4 separate regions of the Homo sapiens genome follow, and all the other regions are linked to region 3. Evidence: promoter capture Hi-C in 16 types of primary human blood cells and fetal thymus (Javierre and others, 2016). All regions are on one chromosome and are shown on one strand. The core of a region is centred on a gene start or on the middle of the fragment in contact, and the rest is flanking DNA. Distances in the headings are between cores, read along the strand shown.

The links. The method cuts DNA at HindIII sites, captures the fragments that hold promoters and counts their contacts. A CHiCAGO score of 5 or more calls a contact.
Region 1: a fragment that was not itself captured here is called in contact with the fragment with the promoter of LRRC4C in region 3 in 1 of 17 cell types (M2 macrophages); the score reaches 7.5 in M2 macrophages.
Region 2: a fragment that was not itself captured here is called in contact with the fragment with the promoter of LRRC4C in region 3 in 1 of 17 cell types (M2 macrophages); the score reaches 7.3 in M2 macrophages.
Region 4: a fragment that was not itself captured here is called in contact with the fragment with the promoter of LRRC4C in region 3 in 3 of 17 cell types (M2 macrophages, megakaryocytes and M0 macrophages); the score reaches 11.5 in M2 macrophages.

Annotation. Positions count from the first base shown.
Region 1 is chr11:42,548,149-42,553,144 of GRCh38, reverse strand. No RefSeq gene overlaps it. Among named protein-coding and RNA genes, the nearest start is that of LINC02740, 300 kb to the right of the region's middle. The HindIII fragment of the contact is 285 bases long and covers 2,797-3,081 here.
Region 2 is chr11:43,290,439-43,294,877 of GRCh38, reverse strand. No RefSeq gene overlaps it. Among named protein-coding and RNA genes, the nearest start is that of API5, 19 kb to the left of the region's middle. The HindIII fragment of the contact is 4,872 bases long and covers 1-4,194 here.
Region 3 is chr11:41,457,063-41,461,616 of GRCh38, reverse strand. It overlaps LRRC4C (leucine rich repeat containing 4C), which reads left to right and starts at 1,965. Exons shown (of 7, transcript NM_001258419.2): 1 at 1,965-2,186. The HindIII fragment of the contact is 6,701 bases long and covers 936-4,554 here.
Region 4 is chr11:42,498,793-42,503,078 of GRCh38, reverse strand. No RefSeq gene overlaps it. Among named protein-coding and RNA genes, the nearest start is that of LINC02740, 250 kb to the right of the region's middle. The HindIII fragment of the contact is 2,753 bases long and covers 270-3,022 here.

The sequences.
Region 1 (4,996 bases), core at 1,690-4,189, 1.1 Mb before region 3:
ATGAGATTGCCAATATCTAAGTGCATCAGTCAGGGTTCAACCCAGAGAAAGAGAACCAACAGGATGTATAAATTTAAAGATTTATTGCAAGGAATTGGCTCATGTGATTGTGGCGGCTGGCTAGGCAAGTCAGAAATCATAGGGCAGGCAGCCAGAAAGGGCAAGCTGGAACTTTCAGTACAGGCTGAAGCTGCTGTCCATAGCTGGGATTGCTTCATCAGGGAATCTTAAGCTCTGTTCATAAGGCCTTTCAACTGATTAAATGAGGACTATCCAGAATAATATCCCTCACTGAAAGCCAATCGATTATGGACTTTAGTCATACTTACCAAGTATCTTTGCAGGACACCTATGTTAGTGTTAGATGGAATAAATGGGGGTTGTAACCTGTCAAGTTCACTCATCAAAGGACCATCATATGAACCTTTCTGGACCACTAGACAAAGCAACTAGATGTGGTTTGACTGAATTGTTAAACACAACTTCCAAGATTCTTCCTATATCTATATAACTTACCTATTTTAGGACTTAAAAAATGCTTTGAAATTACCTTGGACCCATCAATGGGAAGACATTTGATAGCTTCTTAGATTTTTCCATGGCCCTGAATCATATTAGAATGTTTATTATTATTCCACATGAAAACCGTTCAGTTTTTTGAAAGGCTGCCTTTAATTAGTCTTCTCTTCTAGACATGACCAGCTTCATTAATTGGGCCTCAAGGGAAACCTTTATGGTGGTGACTAAGAACATGGCTTTTGAAGACAAATGAGAATTCAAAACCACTATCTGTTCTCTGTAACATAAGTTACCTTGGACAAGCCACTTAACCTTGCCTAATTTTACATTTCTCACCTATACAGTAGAAATGTTAATACATACCTTATAAAGTTGTCATGAAGATGAGGTGGTGTCTTAGTCCAGATTTACCCTAGAAACAGAACCTGAGACAAGGGTGTATGTGCAGGTGGATTATTTTCAGAAGTGACCACGAGAATTTGGACTGTGAAGAGCAAAACAAGGAAAGAGGAAATGCTAGTTCAAGGTAAATTCTTGTTCCCATACCTACTAAAGGCAGCTGGGAGTTGATCCAATAGAGATCCTGCTAAGTGCCCCCCAGGATTTCCTGCTTCAAGGAAGAGGGTAGTGTTTATCCTCTAACTCCCACCTCTCACTGGACATAGGCTATTAACTCCTTCCCATTTCTTAGTTGCCTCAGCATCTCACATCGAAATATTAGAGGAGATTTGTGTTGCATGATGAGCCTGAGATGAGGTACTATCAAGAGGTTGTACCTGCATGCAGCTGTTTGTTATGGTAAGAGCTGGAGTAAAAATGTGAGAATAGGATACAAGGGAGGGTAAACTGGTGCTTGAATCAGATGAAGTAACATGTGCAAAGTGTTCAGACTGGTAGCCAGTATATAATAAGCACTAAATAAATGCTAGAATTTGAAAATACAGTAATAAGGTTGATGGCAACAATAATGATAATAGTGATAAGTATAATAATAAATGCCATGGTTTTCAGATCACCCTGTTTTTCTGCTTCTAAAGACATGCTCATGGTTATAAATCTCCTTAAAATGCATTGCTTAAAACAGAATTAAATACTGCAGATTAGTATGACCAGCTCAAGGTAAAATGGGATTAGCACTTTACTTCTTGTGACCATATGAATTCATATTATTTCATCTATGATTACTATTTTGGCAATAGTGATACACTATATTTGTTACTTATTTTGAAGTTCAAATAATCCTTAATCTTTTTTTCCAAAACAAATATATTTTAAATATATTCCATAACTGTCTTAGTTTTTGAACCTCTATTCAGGATTTTATGCTTATTTTAATATATATGGAAAATATTATATAGTAAAACAATGATTGGCTTTGAATTTTGTCTTTGCCATTCACTAGCTATCCAATACTGATAAATTAACTGAGCTTTTTTAGGCCTTTGTTTCTTGATCTGTAAAAAGAGAATAATGTTGCCTGATTTATTAGATTATTAATATATGAAATCATATATCATTTGTATAAGGTGCATAAATAAATATGTACTAATTTTTGTTTTGCTTTCTTTGCCCTTTATAGTTCTGGCATACTATTTCAGTTTCACCAAGGCCATTTTAAATTTTGATTTGTCATATAACTTATTAAGTTATTCATTCCAGGTTATTATTCACAATTTTGTAAGCAAATTCTTTATGTTTTAATTGATTTTCAAGACAGTTCTAAATCCAGTGTCCCTTTGTTTCAAGGATAATCTTCACCTAATTTGATATACATGAACTTTTCTGGGATGCCTCTATTCAGGCCAGCTTTGGTTTCATGTTACTCTAAATTCTCTCATTTTTTTCTATTTAATTCACAATAAAATCATAGGATGGTATCTGTTAAATACCTTACAGAAAGTCTAGTGCATTTTTACTATAGAGTTTGTATGCCCCTAAGCCTTGGAATATGACAATAAAGAAAGCAATAATTTCAATTATTTCCTCATCTTGAACCAACCAAATCTCAACCTATATTTACATACACAAAACGGCCCAGTTATTTTTTATTTTTAAATAAACAATAAGCTGACTTGGCAGCACTCACAAGAATAAATTACGAAGCAAATTTTTGACCCAAATTCTGAGAGTTAGACTTCTCACAACAGGTAATTTTTTGAGGGAGGATGGGGGATATGGTTTTATACATTACTCTTTACACAGTCCTGAGAAACTTTGAAGATCTAGCTGCGCTTCTTGGATTAACAAGCCAAGGTACCAGCTTCGCTAAGGAAAGCTTGGTGAAAATGTCAGTATGGGCAATGAAAAATAGCAGTTTAAAACTTCACAATCTTAAAATAGATGCTAGAAAATGTCAACGCTGTAAACAATTGATTGCCAGCATCTAGTGTTGCCTGACGTACTTGAGTCAGTACGTTTCCAGCATCAAGGTTATGAAATTTGCAGATAGTAAATCTATATTATTTACAGCAAAGGACACACCTGTATTATTCTTGTTGTTTTTATTTTGCTGCCAAGTGTTGAGATAAATCAAGGCCCTTATACTCTGAGTCAATAGAAGCTTTATTGGCTTTCAATCATCAATTCTCGCTGCAGCAGCTGGAAAAATAAAAGTGGTATCTGTGGTTAGAAAAAGAAGAGTCTTTTTCTTTGCTTTTTATCCTCCTGTGTAGTTTGAAGGCATTTAAAATCACCATGTCATAATGGAACAAGTGTGGATCTAGCTAGAGATTGCTGAGCCATGGCATTGAGGTGGAAGTTAAGGCAGTGAAGTGAACCGGGAGGTTTATTGGATCTTCAGCATTTGCAGATGCCAATAGCTACATCAGGACCAGCATCCCAACAGCTATAGGATGGAGCACCTTCAGGGGTTACCTGAAAGGGCAATAGACAAGTATAATGATTTGACCATTCTCAGATCCAGGGTGATGTAGCACAATTTGCCATTCTACTGTCTCTGTGACAGTCTGTAGTGAGCCTTACTTTCCCTAAGACACGGACAGTTTCTCTCCAGGAATAAATAGAGAGAGGGCCAAATAGAAATTATCTTTCTTTAAGGGATAGACAAAAAAAATGGATCAATGATTCCCAATAATAGTAATAATGCTTAATGATATTCAAGGTTGAATTTATTGATTTTTGAATTTACTATGTGTCTGTGCCGTATGAGAAGGGTGCAACTCTTATCGTCTTTCTCCACATAGGGAAGCTAAGGCTGACGGAGGTTAAGTAATATTGCCCCAAGTGATAAGCTACTGGGTGGTGCATTGAGGATTTGGATTCAGATCTAACTGTAGCCCTATTGTCTATACACTGATGCATAAAGCTAAGTGAAAGAGACTTTTCCAAACCACACCATCAACCATGAGAATTATTTTAGTCTCCTCAGTACATTTTATTTTGTCTTGTACATTGTGCCTTCTTTGCTTGCCTCCTGCCTTGTTGAAACACCTAACTCCCATTTGGCTCTCAGTGGCTGTCTGTTAAACACTACCCCTTCTTAGAGGCCTTCCCTACGTCCACAGTTTAGGTCATGCCACTTTTTTGTGGGCACCTACAGAATCCCAGACTTATCTCCAGTATAACCCTGATTACTTGCTGTTCTTCATGAGATTCTGAGGCTCTCAAAGGCAAAGGAATTTATATTTCATGCTAAATCTCCAGGGCTTAGCAGAATTCCTAGAACACAGTGTATACTTTGAAAATGGTAGTCAAATGACATGAATTAGTAATATCATGACCAAATCCTTCGTTTAATATAGGCTTCCTTCTCTATTTTGAGAACTTTATATATATGTATGTATGCATATATATATGTATATGTATATTTGTTTTCATATGTTACATGTGTTTATGTGTGTATTTGACTTCAGCATTTTATTTTCTATCTATTTTGTTCTTTTAGTGACTTTTGCTAATTTCATAAAAGGGAGTCAGATGAACGTACAACTGAAACCCAGACAAAATTAGTTGTTTAATGATACTAGACCACAACAACAAAATAAAACCAAAGAAACCTCCTTTTGTTTCCATTTTAACTCTTAGCAAAGGCCTTGATGCTATCATCTTGGCTGCTATACTTTCTTCTTACCCCTTATTTTTCTCCTTTCTTGTGGCTGCCATTGCTAATTCAGCATGAAGACACATCCCTGATTAACTGATGTGTCAAATCAGTCATCATCAGACTGTATAATCTTGGTTACCATTTATTAATCAATTAATTACTTCAACAAAGATGCCAATGTTGGCATCCTTGCTACTATGCCTGGTGAGCCAGGGCTCCATGAAGTCTTGAGACATTTGCTAAGATCATTAGCTAGAAACCCTGAGTGGATTGATGGTGTGCCAGGAAACATCAGTTGGAAATAACTATTATATCTTGTCACCCCTTAATATACTGCTTCGATTATATTTTTATTGACATTAAACTTATTGGGAACTTTTCTTGGAGTAGAAGTTGATCTTTATGAAATTTCAT
Region 2 (4,439 bases), core at 509-3,008, 1.8 Mb before region 3:
TTTTGTAGTTTTCCTAGTAGAGATCTTTCATCTCCTTGGTTAAATATATTCCCAGGTACTTTTTTTTGTTAGCTATTTTAAATGGGATTGCCTTCTTGACTTTTTTGTCTTTTCATTACTGATGTATAAAATGCTTATGATTTTTGTATGTTCATTTTGTATACTGCAAATTTATTGAATTTATCAGTTCTAAAAGTTTTCTGGTGAAATCTTTTATGTTTTTCTAGATAGAAGATCGTGCATCTGCAAAAAGGAACTTTTTTTTTTTTGAGACAGAGTCTTGCTCTGTTGTCCAGGCTGGAGTGCAGTGGCACAATCTCGGCTCACTGCAAGCTCCACCTCCTGGGTTCATGCCATTCTCCTGCCTCAGCCTCCCGAGTAGCTGGGACTATAGGCACCTGCCACAGTGCCTGGCTAATTTTTTGTATTTTTAGTGGAGACAGGGTTTCTCCGTGTTAGCCAGGATGGTCTTGATCTTCTGATCTTGTGATCCACCAGCCTCGGTCCCCCAAAGTGCTGGGATTACAGGCGTGGACCACTGCGTCTGGCCAAAAGGGAACAATTTGAATCCCTCTATTCCAATTTGGATGCCTTTTATTTCTTTTTCTTGCCTGATTTCTCTGGCTAGGATTTCCAGTACTATGTGAAATATGAGTGGTCAAAGTAGGCATCCTTGCCTTGTTCCAGTTCTTATGGAAAAGGCTTTCAACAAATTCCCGTTAAGTATGATGTTAGCTGTGGGTTTGTCATATATTTCATTTACTATTTTAAGGTATGGTCCTTCTATGCCTAGTTTGCTTAGAGTTTTTATCATGAAGAGGTGTTGAATTTTGTCAAACGCTTTTCTGCATTTACTGAGATTATCATGCGTTTTTTGTCATTTATTTTGTTGATGCAATGTATTATGTTTATTGATTTGTGTATTTTGAACCATCCTTGCAACCATTATATAAATCCCACTTGATCATGGAATATGATCTTTTTGACATGTTGTTGGATTTCATTTCCTAGTATTTTGCTGAGGATTTTTGCATTTATATTCATCAGAGATATTGGCTGATAGTTTTCTTTTTGTGTGTGTGTGTTCTTGTCTGGTTTTGACATCAGGTTAATGCTGGCTTTGTAGAATGAGTCAGGGAGCATTCCATCTTTAATTTTTTGGAATAGTTAAAAAAGAATTGGTATTAGTTCTTTTTTGTGCATTTGGTAGTATTATGCAGTGAATCCATCCACTCCTGGGATTTTCTTTGTTGGGAGACTTTTTATTACTTATTCCATCTTGCTGCTGGTTATTGGTCTGTTCAGGTTTTCTCTTTATTCCTGATTAAATCTTGGTAGGTTGTATGTTTTTAGGAATTTATCCATTTCCCTTAGATTTTCCACTTTGTCAGTGTACAGTTGTTCATAATACTCTGACTTTTTTTGTACTTCTGTGGTATCAGTTGAAATGTCTCCTTTTTCATGTCTTATTTGTTTTATTTGTTTTTTTTCTTGGTTAGTCTAGTTAGTGGTTTATCAATTTTATGATCTTTTAGAAGAACCAGCTTTAAATTTTATTGTTCCTTTGTACTGTTTTTTAGTCTCTATTTAGTTCTGCTCTGATCCTTGTTATTTCTTTCCTTCTATCAATTTTGGGTTTGGTTTGTTCTTGCTTTTCTAGTTCTTTGTGGTGTATTATCATTCGATGGTTTATTTGAAATATTTCTGTTTTTTTTTCCTTTTATGTAGGTGTTTATTGCTATAAATTTCTTGCTTAGCATGGCTTTTGCTATGTCCCACAGATTTGGTATGTTGTATTCCCATTTTAATTTGTTTCAAGAAATTTTTTTATTTTCATCTTAATTTCTTCATTGACCCAATGATCATTCAGGAGCATATTGTTTAATTTCTAGGTATATGTATAGTTTCCAAAGTTCCTGTTGGTATTCATTTCTAGTTTTACTCTATTGTAGTCTGAGAATATACTTGATATCATTTTGATTTTTAAAAATTTGTTGAGACTTCTTTTGTGGCATAGTATATAGTCACTCCTGGAGAAAGTTCTATATGTTCATGAGAAGAATGTATATTCTGCAGTTGTTGGATAAAATGTTCTGTACATGTCTGCCTGTTAGGTTCATTTGGTCTAAAGTCCAGTTTAAGTCCAATTTTTTTCCCTGTCTGAATGATCTATGTAATGCTGAGAATGAGGTGTTGAGGTCCCTCACTATTATTGTATTGCTATTTCTTTCTTTAGATCTACTGATATTTTCTTTATGAATCTGAGCACTCCAGTGTTGGGTGCATATATATTTATAATTGTTATAGCCTCTTGCTAGATTCATCCCTTTATCATTAAATAATGACCTTCTTTATTTCTTTCTATGCTGTTTTTGGCTTAAAGTCTTTTAAAATCTGATATAAGTATAGCTACTGCTGCTCATTTTTGGTTTCCATTTGCATGGAATATCTTTTTTCATCCCTCTACTTCCAGTCTATATGTGTCTTTATAGGTAATGTGTATTTCTTACAGGCAGCATATGGTTGGATTATGTTTTATCCATGTAGCCAGTCTATGTTGATCTCAGCTGAGCTGGTTGCTCACTTCTTTCTCCTTCTGTGCCTCAGGTGTTTCCTGTAACTTCTCTGTTGGACTCTGGAGTTCTCTCCTGGATGTCCTATTAGAGGTGTGATTATTCATAATTTTGGTTCTTCATTCTGGAGAGGGTGAGTGTCCAATGTCTGTAGTCAGCCATCTTGAACCAGAATCCTCTAAATATAGTTTTCACATAGCTACATTGAATGCCATTTTGTTATAATTTATTTAATCATTCAAGTGTTATTAAGCATTTAGGTTGTTCTGTTTTTCACTATTATCAACAATGCTTGATGGGCATCTTTGCACATACTTCTTGCATTACATCTCTGATTATTTCTTTATGATAGATTACTATAAGTGGAATTACTTAAGAGAAAAGATAAGCTCATTCTTCAAGGCTTTTGGATCATGGTGCCAAATTGCTCTTTAGAAAGATTTACTACTTTCCTGTCCTGTCAAAGGGTTGTTCCAAGAAGACTTTTTATTTTATTTTTAAAATCTGAAGTAAAGACTTTCTTTCTCTTTGAGTTTTGATTCACAGACTTAATATTTCTGGGCAACTTCTCTATGTGTGTGTGTTTGCTGTTTCTGGAGAAGATGCCAAGATGGCGGCCAAAACACTGCCGTCTCTCTCTGAGTAGCCTCCTGGGACTAGCACTTTTGGCTGCATATGATGGCCACTTTCCTATGTGGCAGAACCTGCCTCTTACTGCATATGCCAGTTCTTCATTTTTCTAGCCTCTCTTGCCAAGCCTTGGGCATATGATTTACCCTGACCCATGAAACCAGAAGATAATTCATGACTATTAAGAGAAATATTTTTAATCCTGATCAAGAGGTAACTTCCTATTTCTCCCAACCTTTGAATGTGGTTGTATGGGGATACAATTTTAGGAGCTGTGGAAGCCATATTGTGACTGTAGAGGGAAGACCAAGAGTCAAGACTAATGGTTGGAAGACAAATTGTTGGGGCACAGAATATGATTCCCCCAAATGTGGCACTTTGATGTACTGAGTGCTTTGAGAATTGAAAGGCCTCAGAACCAAGGTCTCTCTCGTATCTTCTACTCCCTCCCTGTCTCTGATTCTCTTTCCCAAAGAAGCACTGGAAGGGACTCTTTCTAGAATTTTCTTATCTATGAAAGCATCTTTCCAAACGAACACAATTGTTCTTACTTCCTCAATAGGAATGTCATCAAATAACCAGGAAAAGATCAACCACTGGAGGAGAGAAGAGATTAGGAGTTGTCACTGCATCCAGACAGACTTTTCATCTGTTCTGAGGGTAGCTCTGGAGACTACCTGGGGACTTTATCTGCATAATAAAGCAACCTTTGTTCCTGTGCAGTTCTGGCCCTCACCTCCCTGTAACTTGTCCCATTCAGCTTCCATAAGAGAATCACTTACAAGATAATATCTGTCTCCCAGGTCCATACACTTCTCTCCTAGGAAGAGAGTATTTAAACCTCAATCATCTGGTCTCTCTTTGAGTATCATACTTTGTGTATGGCTTTGTGCTTATGCATGTTAAATAAATTTTGTATGCCTTTTTCTCCTGTTATTCTGCCTTTTGTCAGTTCATTTTCAGTGAAACTTTTGTGGGCAAAGGGGAAGCTTTCCCTTGTTTCCTACAAAGTACAAAGTACTGGAACTGTCCACACTAGACTTTCGTTATGTGAAAAGAAAACCAAATTGTCCTTTTTTTCTTTTTTTTTTTGAGATGGAGTTTCTCTCTTGTCACCATTGCTGGAGTGCAGTGGTGCGATCTTGGCTCACTGCAACCTCTGCCTCCCAGGTTCAAGTGATTCTCCTGCCTCAGCCTCCTAAGTAGCTGGGATTGCAGGCACCTGCCACCATGCCC
Region 3 (4,554 bases), core at 716-3,215:
ATATGTTGATGCTATACTTTATAGAACAAAATAAAATCACTAATAGAAATAGTATTATATGCAAGTCTAATCTTAGTTAGTGGCACAGTGTTTTTTCCAATATTAATCATAGAAAATCTACCAGAGTTATGAAAAATGGTGATTTGAGAGGGATATTTGGAAAAATATAAAATGTAAGTTATTCTCTAAGTTCTTCTTTGCACCTTAAAATTTTGTAAAAATTCAATTTTTTCATATTAGTCCCATCAATTTTATTAAGATCTGTGTTTACTAAATAAGATTAAATTCTTGCCGTTCTTGGAAGAATTATTTTACCTGTGTTTTCTTTTGTGACATCTGCTGGCAATACCTGGTATTACACTGCACTATAACTCACCTTTATCTACCTTCTCCAACTGTCCAATACTTTTCCAGATAATAGCAATTTAATTCAACTTAAAGAATATAGTGAGTGTTCTGAACTAATGAAAAGGTATTTTAATATGAAACTGAATCATAGAAGCAGAAAATTTAGCCCTCTAGAGGCTGATAACTTATTTAGCATATTACACATGTATTTTAATTTCATTGCTTGGTACTAAAAGAGATGTATACTTTTTTTCTGAAAACTTTAAGCTCGTTTCAGGCAAAAATGTTATATATTATAATGCTTACGATGGACAATTGTCAACCAATCCCTCTAGTGACACTGTCCCACACAGATGTTCTCTACAATTTCATAGCTATGTGATTTAAAAGTGTACATTAAAGTAAAACTGTGCAGGTGTCAAGTCTAAATTCATGTTTAAAAATGAATGAACTGTACCTAAATTGCTATATACATCGGATCCATGGCTGTGAAGCAGAATGCATGAGCAAACTTTTTATATTACCAGGAATCCATTTATCTATAGTCCCATCAGTCAAATTCAGATACTTGTTGCCAGCTCCAAGCTTTATAGTCTGGAGCTGGTTTTTGAAATTGCTTTGTATTTCCATTTAACAGCCAGGGAAGCAGCATGTTAAAATTTTCCTCGGTCTCCTTGGATCCTATTTATAAAGCTAATTTGTCTCCCCAGACATTTTTTTTTTTTCTCTTTTAAATGCCAGTTCTAGGCTTCTAAACCATTAACCCCCCTTCTTTATCCCAAGCAAAATACTGTCACAGACAACGCCGTTGCAGGACAGTGATGATTCCGATGATGATATAGTTCTCCCAGGCAGGATACAAAACATTTCGTCTTCTGGCCGGAGATGGATTCACTGCCCTCCCTGCAGACACGCAGGCTCACACACGGAGCACTGGGAAGTACACATTTACTGTACTGCATGCCGACTGCCTTGAAGAAACTGTAGCTAACCACCTTATTAGTATTCTTGCCTCCACCGTGTCTCACTTGCAGCATCAGAGGGCTGAGCAAATGCAGTAGAACAGGGACAGACACAGCTCTGGCAATCATCTCAATGCAGGCTGCCGAATGTTGGGGGTGGGGGGATGCAGCACTTCGAGATTAATAACCTTGCCATAATCCGGGGCACCCTGCAAGCAGACACCTCTGCTGATTGACCTGCTACTGGCTTGATGCATCTGCCTGGGGGAGAGGGATCCGGAATCTACCTAGTCCTGGGGCCCCCCTGATTTTGGATGTTCATTTGATCCTTCACAGATCTGGGAAGGTAACAGCGAGCCGTACCATCTGCAGCACACAGCAGCTCTTGGAGGTTACTACTGACAGTTTTCATTACACTGGTTTGTGTGAGTGCGTGTGTTTGTGTGTGTTTGTGAGTGTGGGTGCCTGCTTTGCATGAAAGAGAATGTGTGAGTGTCCGTGTGTGTGTATGTGTTAGTGTGACAACCAAAGCAGGTATTTCGTACAGTAGGAGATTTCAACAACGTGACAATATTCTCTAGGCACTTGGGCTCACTGTCTGTAGCCCCCACCCCCCGCCTTTCGCCACCTCCTTGCTTCCCTACTCCCCCTTCTGCTTTTGCCTTTGATGAGTTTTTGGCTTACTTTTTGGCGGAGTCTCTTGGACACGTTTTTGCTGGTGCTGGAAGATCAGATACATGGAACCTTTGAAAACTGATTATTTTTCTCCGATATGACTTAAAAAAAAATAAAAAGAAGAAAAGAAAATAGAGTAGTGCACGGCAAGCTAGAGGATTGTAAATTTTCCTTGGTGAACTTTGAGGATCCATAAAGAAGGTAAGTCACGGGACTCCTCAGATCTCAGTTCTTGTTGTCTTGCAATGTTTGTGTTTTCCTGCTTGTTTTCGGAAATGTATATGCAGTTTATATGCTCATTTTTAGAGATTGGAATGCTCAGAAGAACTCAGTGTGTGGCATTTTGGGGCTATTTTTTATGCCAAGGAGGTTATTTCCATTTGTATAACCATCCCCCCATTCCTCTTACCATTTTTGTACCTCTCTTGTTTATCTAACATTTTCACAGGGAATTCTGAATATATGAAATATGGAAAAAAATAATTCCGCCTTTCTCCTGCCTTGCAATACTCTCTAAATTTGAGGAAAAACATTAATCAGAAAAGCGACTGGCAGAGGCTCTGAGTTAGAGGCAAAGTGTATCTGCTCAGAGACTGGGGGCTGGGGAGGTGGGGATGTAATCCGGACTTTCACGATAACTTAATAGTAGACTTCCCCCTCCCCATAGCTCTATTTTTTTCTTCTTGAATAGTTATATCTGCTCTAGAGAGTAGCGAATGCGTGGAATACAGAAAAGCTGCTTCACCAGCTCTTAATTGGAGCAAATGAGAACAAAGTGGAAATTGTTTAGTATTTTGAACCTCTCTCTTTTTGCACTGATTCTCTCGCTATTGCATCTCATTAACCTTTTGGAATGCAGTGTCCCCTGATTAAGACTAGTGTCGCTCATTTTGGAACATCCTCTTACCCTACATGGTCCCCCGAGAAGGGAATGTGCTTGAAAATTGCTCTTAATTGTCTATTCTTGGCTGTAAAAGCAAGTGGCATGAGGAATTCAGGTGACTTTAGTCAAACATCTTGCCTAACTCAGTCTCTTTAGTTTCCTGGTAGTTAACTGTGCCTTTCTTCACCCGCCCCCCTCCCCCCCACCACGCTTTTCCTTCAAAGTGAAACGCAGACAATATTTTACCTGTTTCAATCCCAAAGTTATTTAATTAAAGCAAAATATCATTTCATTGTGATAACGTCTGTGTTCCTGTGTCTTTTAGTATTTTTATCTCTGCATTGGCATCAATTAGCTTCACCCCAGGAGTAAGAATCACTTGTAAATAGGTTTCTAAAATGCTGAGACCTCACATGAAGGCAACAGAATCTTACTCTTCATCTGCCAGTGCATGTGGATGGTTTATCCTTAAGAGAATAGTGTTAGTTCATGGACTGTTAGCCAACTTGAACTGTTACTGTGGACACGTTCATGGAAGAGATGACAGGTGTGTTAACTAGGTAGAGAAGAGCATACCTAAGTGATTCTCTCCAGCTGTTGATGTCTATGTATAGAAAGAAGATGCAAATTGTAACATAATAGATTTATTCAGAGGCTACGTTGCCTGGGTCAAAGATTTATGAGAGCACCCAAGTTGAGAGATGTCAGGCATCATACTCAAAACGTTGATTATATATATATATTTGTTTTTAAAAAAAGGAGTTACAAAAAGAAAACAAGCAAACAAACAAACAAACAAAAAACTTAAAGAAGAGATTATACTCTGGTATTACCCTAGGCTATCCTAGCCTTTCATCTATCTAATATTTTTTGCATGATGATTTTAGAGAAGTAGGTAAAAGAGGACAACTGTGAGAAGCTGCCCCTCCTCCACCCCTGGAGCAACCTTGTACCTGGTACTCCAGGCAGAGCTCTTGGTAAAAATTACCATGGGAAGACTCCTGTCAGTATAATTTATAATATGTCTTTCATGTCAATGATTTATGATCATGATATTTTTATCTGTTACCCGTAATGTCCAGGTAAATTTTTCTTATCTAGAAAGGAGGTCTGTTGTTTTCTTTTTTTAATTTTTAAATGGCTTGAGCCTAGGAGAAACCCTAAACAAAATTTTATTTTCTTTATGGAAAAAACAATCTGAGGTTCATAAAACCTGAAAGTGAGAATAATATATGAATAAGAAACACGAAGTTTCTGTTGTAAGGAGAAGGATCCTGATACTCCAAGTGCCAATGGGTCATGGCAGGGTATTGGAGGCTCTCCAAGCTCTGCCTGGACAATCAGCATTCCTTAAGTTGGTCAGCCCTTTATTAACCTGTTTCTTTTGGCAACTAGTCCCAGGTATAGAGGACAGCATTTTAGGTCATCTATTTAGTGTTAGGACTGTTCTGAATAGAGAGAGGTCCTTTAAAAATGTCGTTCTGGAATTTGGCAAATTAGTACCTCTCTCCATTGAGGCTATTTAATGTTGACTGTTTTCCCATTCATATTCTCACCAAATACTGGTATATTTAGATGTGTGGTGTTGGTAAAAATTAATTGCATAGATTATTCTCAATACTACCTCAAAACAAAACAACAACAACAACAAAAGATACCAACTTGGTTTTTGTGTATTAAAGATTT
Region 4 (4,286 bases), core at 397-2,896, 1.0 Mb before region 3:
AGGACATGAGATTTGGGAGGAGCCAGAGCAGAATGATATTGTTTGGCTCTGTCCCCACCCAAATCTCCTCTTGAATTATAATCCCTGTAATCCCTACATGTCTAGAGAGAGATCTGGTGGGAGGTGATTGGACCATGGGGGTGGTTTCTCCCATGCTGTTCTCATGATAGTGAGTGAGTTCTCATGAGATCTGATGGTTTTATAAGGGGCTCTTCCCTCTTCATTACTCACTCTTCTCTCTCCTGACACCATGTGAGAATGTCTAAGCTTGTTTCCCCTTCACCATCTGCCATGAATGTAAGTTTCCTATGGCCTCCCCAGCCATTTGGAACTATGAGTCAATTAAACCTCTTTTCTTTATAAATTACCCAGTCTAGGGCAGTTTCTATAGCAGTGTGAAAATGGACTAATACGTCTACTATATGATTTTTTGTTACTTTTGCTATACACACACACACTCATTGTTATTTTGTATATATGTGATTTTCCTTTGTAACTTTTAAGTTTTTGTAGTTTAAAAAAAGTAAGAAAAAGAAAACCCAATTTAGCTTATCAGAAGCTCTCATTTTGAGAGTACATGTACAATTTAGATTAATAAAAAATATAAAACGAAATTATGTAATAAATGAAGTTATCTTAGTAGTTTCCATTTTTCAAAATACAGTCATTCAACAGCAGCTGTCCATGGCCTAAAAATGTTTGGAAATTGCTGCTCTAATACAAATGACTCATTTTATGGTAGAAGCCAAAAAGGCAGAATAGTGAAATTACTTGTATCTATCTCTCCTGTTGAAAATGAGAAGAAGATTTAATGGATCTGTGAAGTAACTTAAAATATTTCCTGGAAAATACATTTAATAAGAAGAGAATGAAATTTACTACCTGTATCTTCCCACTGACTTCTTCCTGGTTATGTGCTTCTTTCCTCTGACTTCTGCTTTATTTTCCAGAAAAGAGCTAGTCCTACGAAGTAGCAGTGGGGAGAGTTTCTCCTTTATAGGTCCTTAGGTATATAATTAGGGGTAAATTTGCCATAACCAGATATGGACCACCTTAAAAGCAAATATGATTTCTAGTAATCTACACTGATTCTTTACTGTTATCATCATGGCAACAGAAGCCCATGATACAACAATGACATTACAGTAAAGAGAAAGACTGCATAAGGAGGACCAGTCAGCTCACTTGAAAGCACATGCAGGATTTTTGGCAACAGGGACACGAGTGTTATAAGGATGGTCCAGAAGAAGGGAGGACCTCTTTTGAACAGTAGATGTGAAGTAGGAGGGACAAGCTGCAAATCCCAGTCCTCAAGGCATATGATGCTTAGCTACAGTTATTCATTAACAGCACAACCTACTAATAAACAGAATATTTTGGAAACTTCTTTGTTTCTGTCCCTTTAGGCAAGGATATCTCTATGAAAAAACTGACAGAGCCCAGTTCCCTTGCCAGAATCCTGAATATTTGAGTCAAGATTCCAAGAACTCCTCATCTACCATTGCAAGTATAGGGACAATGTTGCATATCTCAGTGGAACAGCCTAAGATTTGAAGTCAATAGGAAACTGAGCTTGACATAGGATCTGAACACTCAAATATCAACACAACCTCCAGTCTTGTAAGTATCTGGAGTCTGCTCAACATATCATTTGAAGTATGGGCTACTTGCCTTTAACATATCTTTTCCTTGGCATGACCTACTTGGTGTTCTCATGCAATTGCAATCTTTGGAGGATTTATTTCCGAAAGTGGTCCACGGAGCCCAGCATTTTTCATGTTGAGGGGGCATTTCACTTTAAACTACTTTAAGTAGCTGGTGAATAATGTTGAACTTGTTGTAGTTGTTTGTCAGAATCCAAATTAGTTAAGATGTCAAGACAATTCAATTGTTTATCATTAAGAATTATATGCCTCTCAAGTTTGTCCCTAACTCTTCATAGCCTTCAAGAATCTCTATTTTGGGGCTTCCAGTGTCTCTTACCTAGGTCATTACAATGGCTTCCTCATGTCCTCTTGATTTTCTACCTCATCTCCCTATTATTTTCTCCAAAGTGCAGGCAGATCAATCCTTCTAAAAGGTAAACTTTATCATGCTTCAAGAATCTCCAGGGCTGGGTGTGGTGGCTCATGCCTGTAATCCCAGCACTTTGGGAGCTGAGGTGGGTGGATCACAAGGTCAAGAGATAGAGACCATCCTGGCTAACATGGTGAAACCTCATCTCTACTAAAAATACAAAAATTAGCTGGGTGTCGTGGCAGGCAACTGTACTCCCAGCTATTCGGGAGGCTGAGACAGGGGAATAACTTGGACCAGGGAGGCGGAGCTTGCAGTGAGCGGAGATTGTGCCACTGCACTCCAGCCTGGTGACACAGTGAGACTCCATCTCAAAACAAAAAGAAAAAGAAGAATCTCCAACTTACAACTTTTATACAATCTGGACCCTTTGGAATGGCATTCTGTACTAAATCTCCTGACTTCACTTTTGGATGTTTGACTGCTTAACAGGGTTTAAGGTTCATCTCTATCGTCCCCTCCTCCTTATATCTGGACAAGTTTATAAAAAATGTTTGATGTTTGCTCCTTTGGCAATGACAGATTTAAACCATGTAAGCACCTGTCCATGTGCCAAAATACTCACTGTGGTGGTTCCATATGTATCCATAATAAAAATCTCAAGCCAGTCTCTTTACATCATCTTTCAAGCCATTTTCAGACTATCTTGGGAAGCCCTTCCTGTTATCCCCCAAAAGTCTCATTATGTAATTAATAAACATTTTAATATCCTTTTGGTGAAGATGTGGTATCATCAGTCCTAACATCCAAACCAAATATTGGTTGTGGATCCATCCTATTTATTAGTATAACCATGAAATATACCAGGCTTTTCTGTCTAGTGCTTGCTTACATGTCCGTTTTCACTAACCCAGCATATGTCTGTTGATGACCTACTATATGCTATGTACTTTCTAGGCATTTGATAAATGATGGTGACAACATGAAGGTCCCTGTTCTTAAAGCTTATATTCTAGCACAGTGAAACAAACAATTAGTAAGCAAAGTAATATATAAATTTATATGGTGCTAATTATTTTAAAGAAAGAAAACAGTGTGATGTGGCATAATCTTAGCAGATAGAATTAGACTGGATTGTTTTAGAGGGATCCATTGAGAAGGTGGCATGTGACTTGAGCACTGTCAGCAAGAAGTTCTCACCTATGCAAATGTTTAGGATAAAGTCATTCCAGGCAAGGAGCATAATAAATGTAAAATCCCTGTGTGGGACAGAAGGAACTCGTGTCTTAGAAATAGAATAAAGACCAATAATGCTAAGCATGGAGAATAATTGAGGGAAAAACACTAGGTAAGGACTGGAGGGGTTAGGTAGGTACTAGATCAAAGGACCTGGTAAGCCATGCCAAGGAATTATAAGTTTTAATCTAAGTAGTTCAGTAGATAGCCAATGGAAGGTTTAAACCTTATCTGATTTGCTATTTAATACTCCTAGATGCTGGGGAAAAAATAAATTGCAATGAGTAAGAATGAATGCATAGAGAACAGTAAGTAGGTTTAGGGAAATAATTTCAGATGAGAGATGATGGCAGCATGGATGACAGTAATAGCATTGGGGAAGAGAAGTGGATGAACTTTGAGTATATATTTTGGAAACAAAGTAAAGAAGATTTACTCTTTTATTGACTGAGGGTGACATGAACCCTTTCTTTGGGCAGATGGAACATTTTATAGATCCTGAACACTCCTCTATAATCTACACTGGCTGTTTGATATAAATGTAACCCTCCTCTGCTGCCAGTCCTTCCTGCCTGACCCTATTGTGTTGGGCTCATACAGAATCCTGTACATACTTTTTATCACAGCACTTATCAGGACATATTGTAATTGTTGTTTCTCTAAGTAGGAAGTTAACAGGAAGTTAACGCAGTGATGAACACAGTGCTTGACACAGTGTTGGCATTTAATAAATCTCTGTTGAATAAATAACCAAAAACATGCCTTACGCAACTCTACAATGGAAGGGTATAAATAAGGGCTTTGCACCTTGCAGCAGTCCTAGCGTTTGAGGAGTACTGCCAAAGGTCAGGGACCCATCAGGAGGACTCCTTTTAATTACCCCAGGAACTCTCAAGAAGAATGATCAGAACATTATAAATGGTAATGATCTGGAAAATGGAAAGGGACTTACAAATTGGAAAATGAAAATAGTAACCTCGGATGCAACAAAATTAGCTTAAAAGGCAAGCTAACTGGAGAGAGGGAAACAAGTC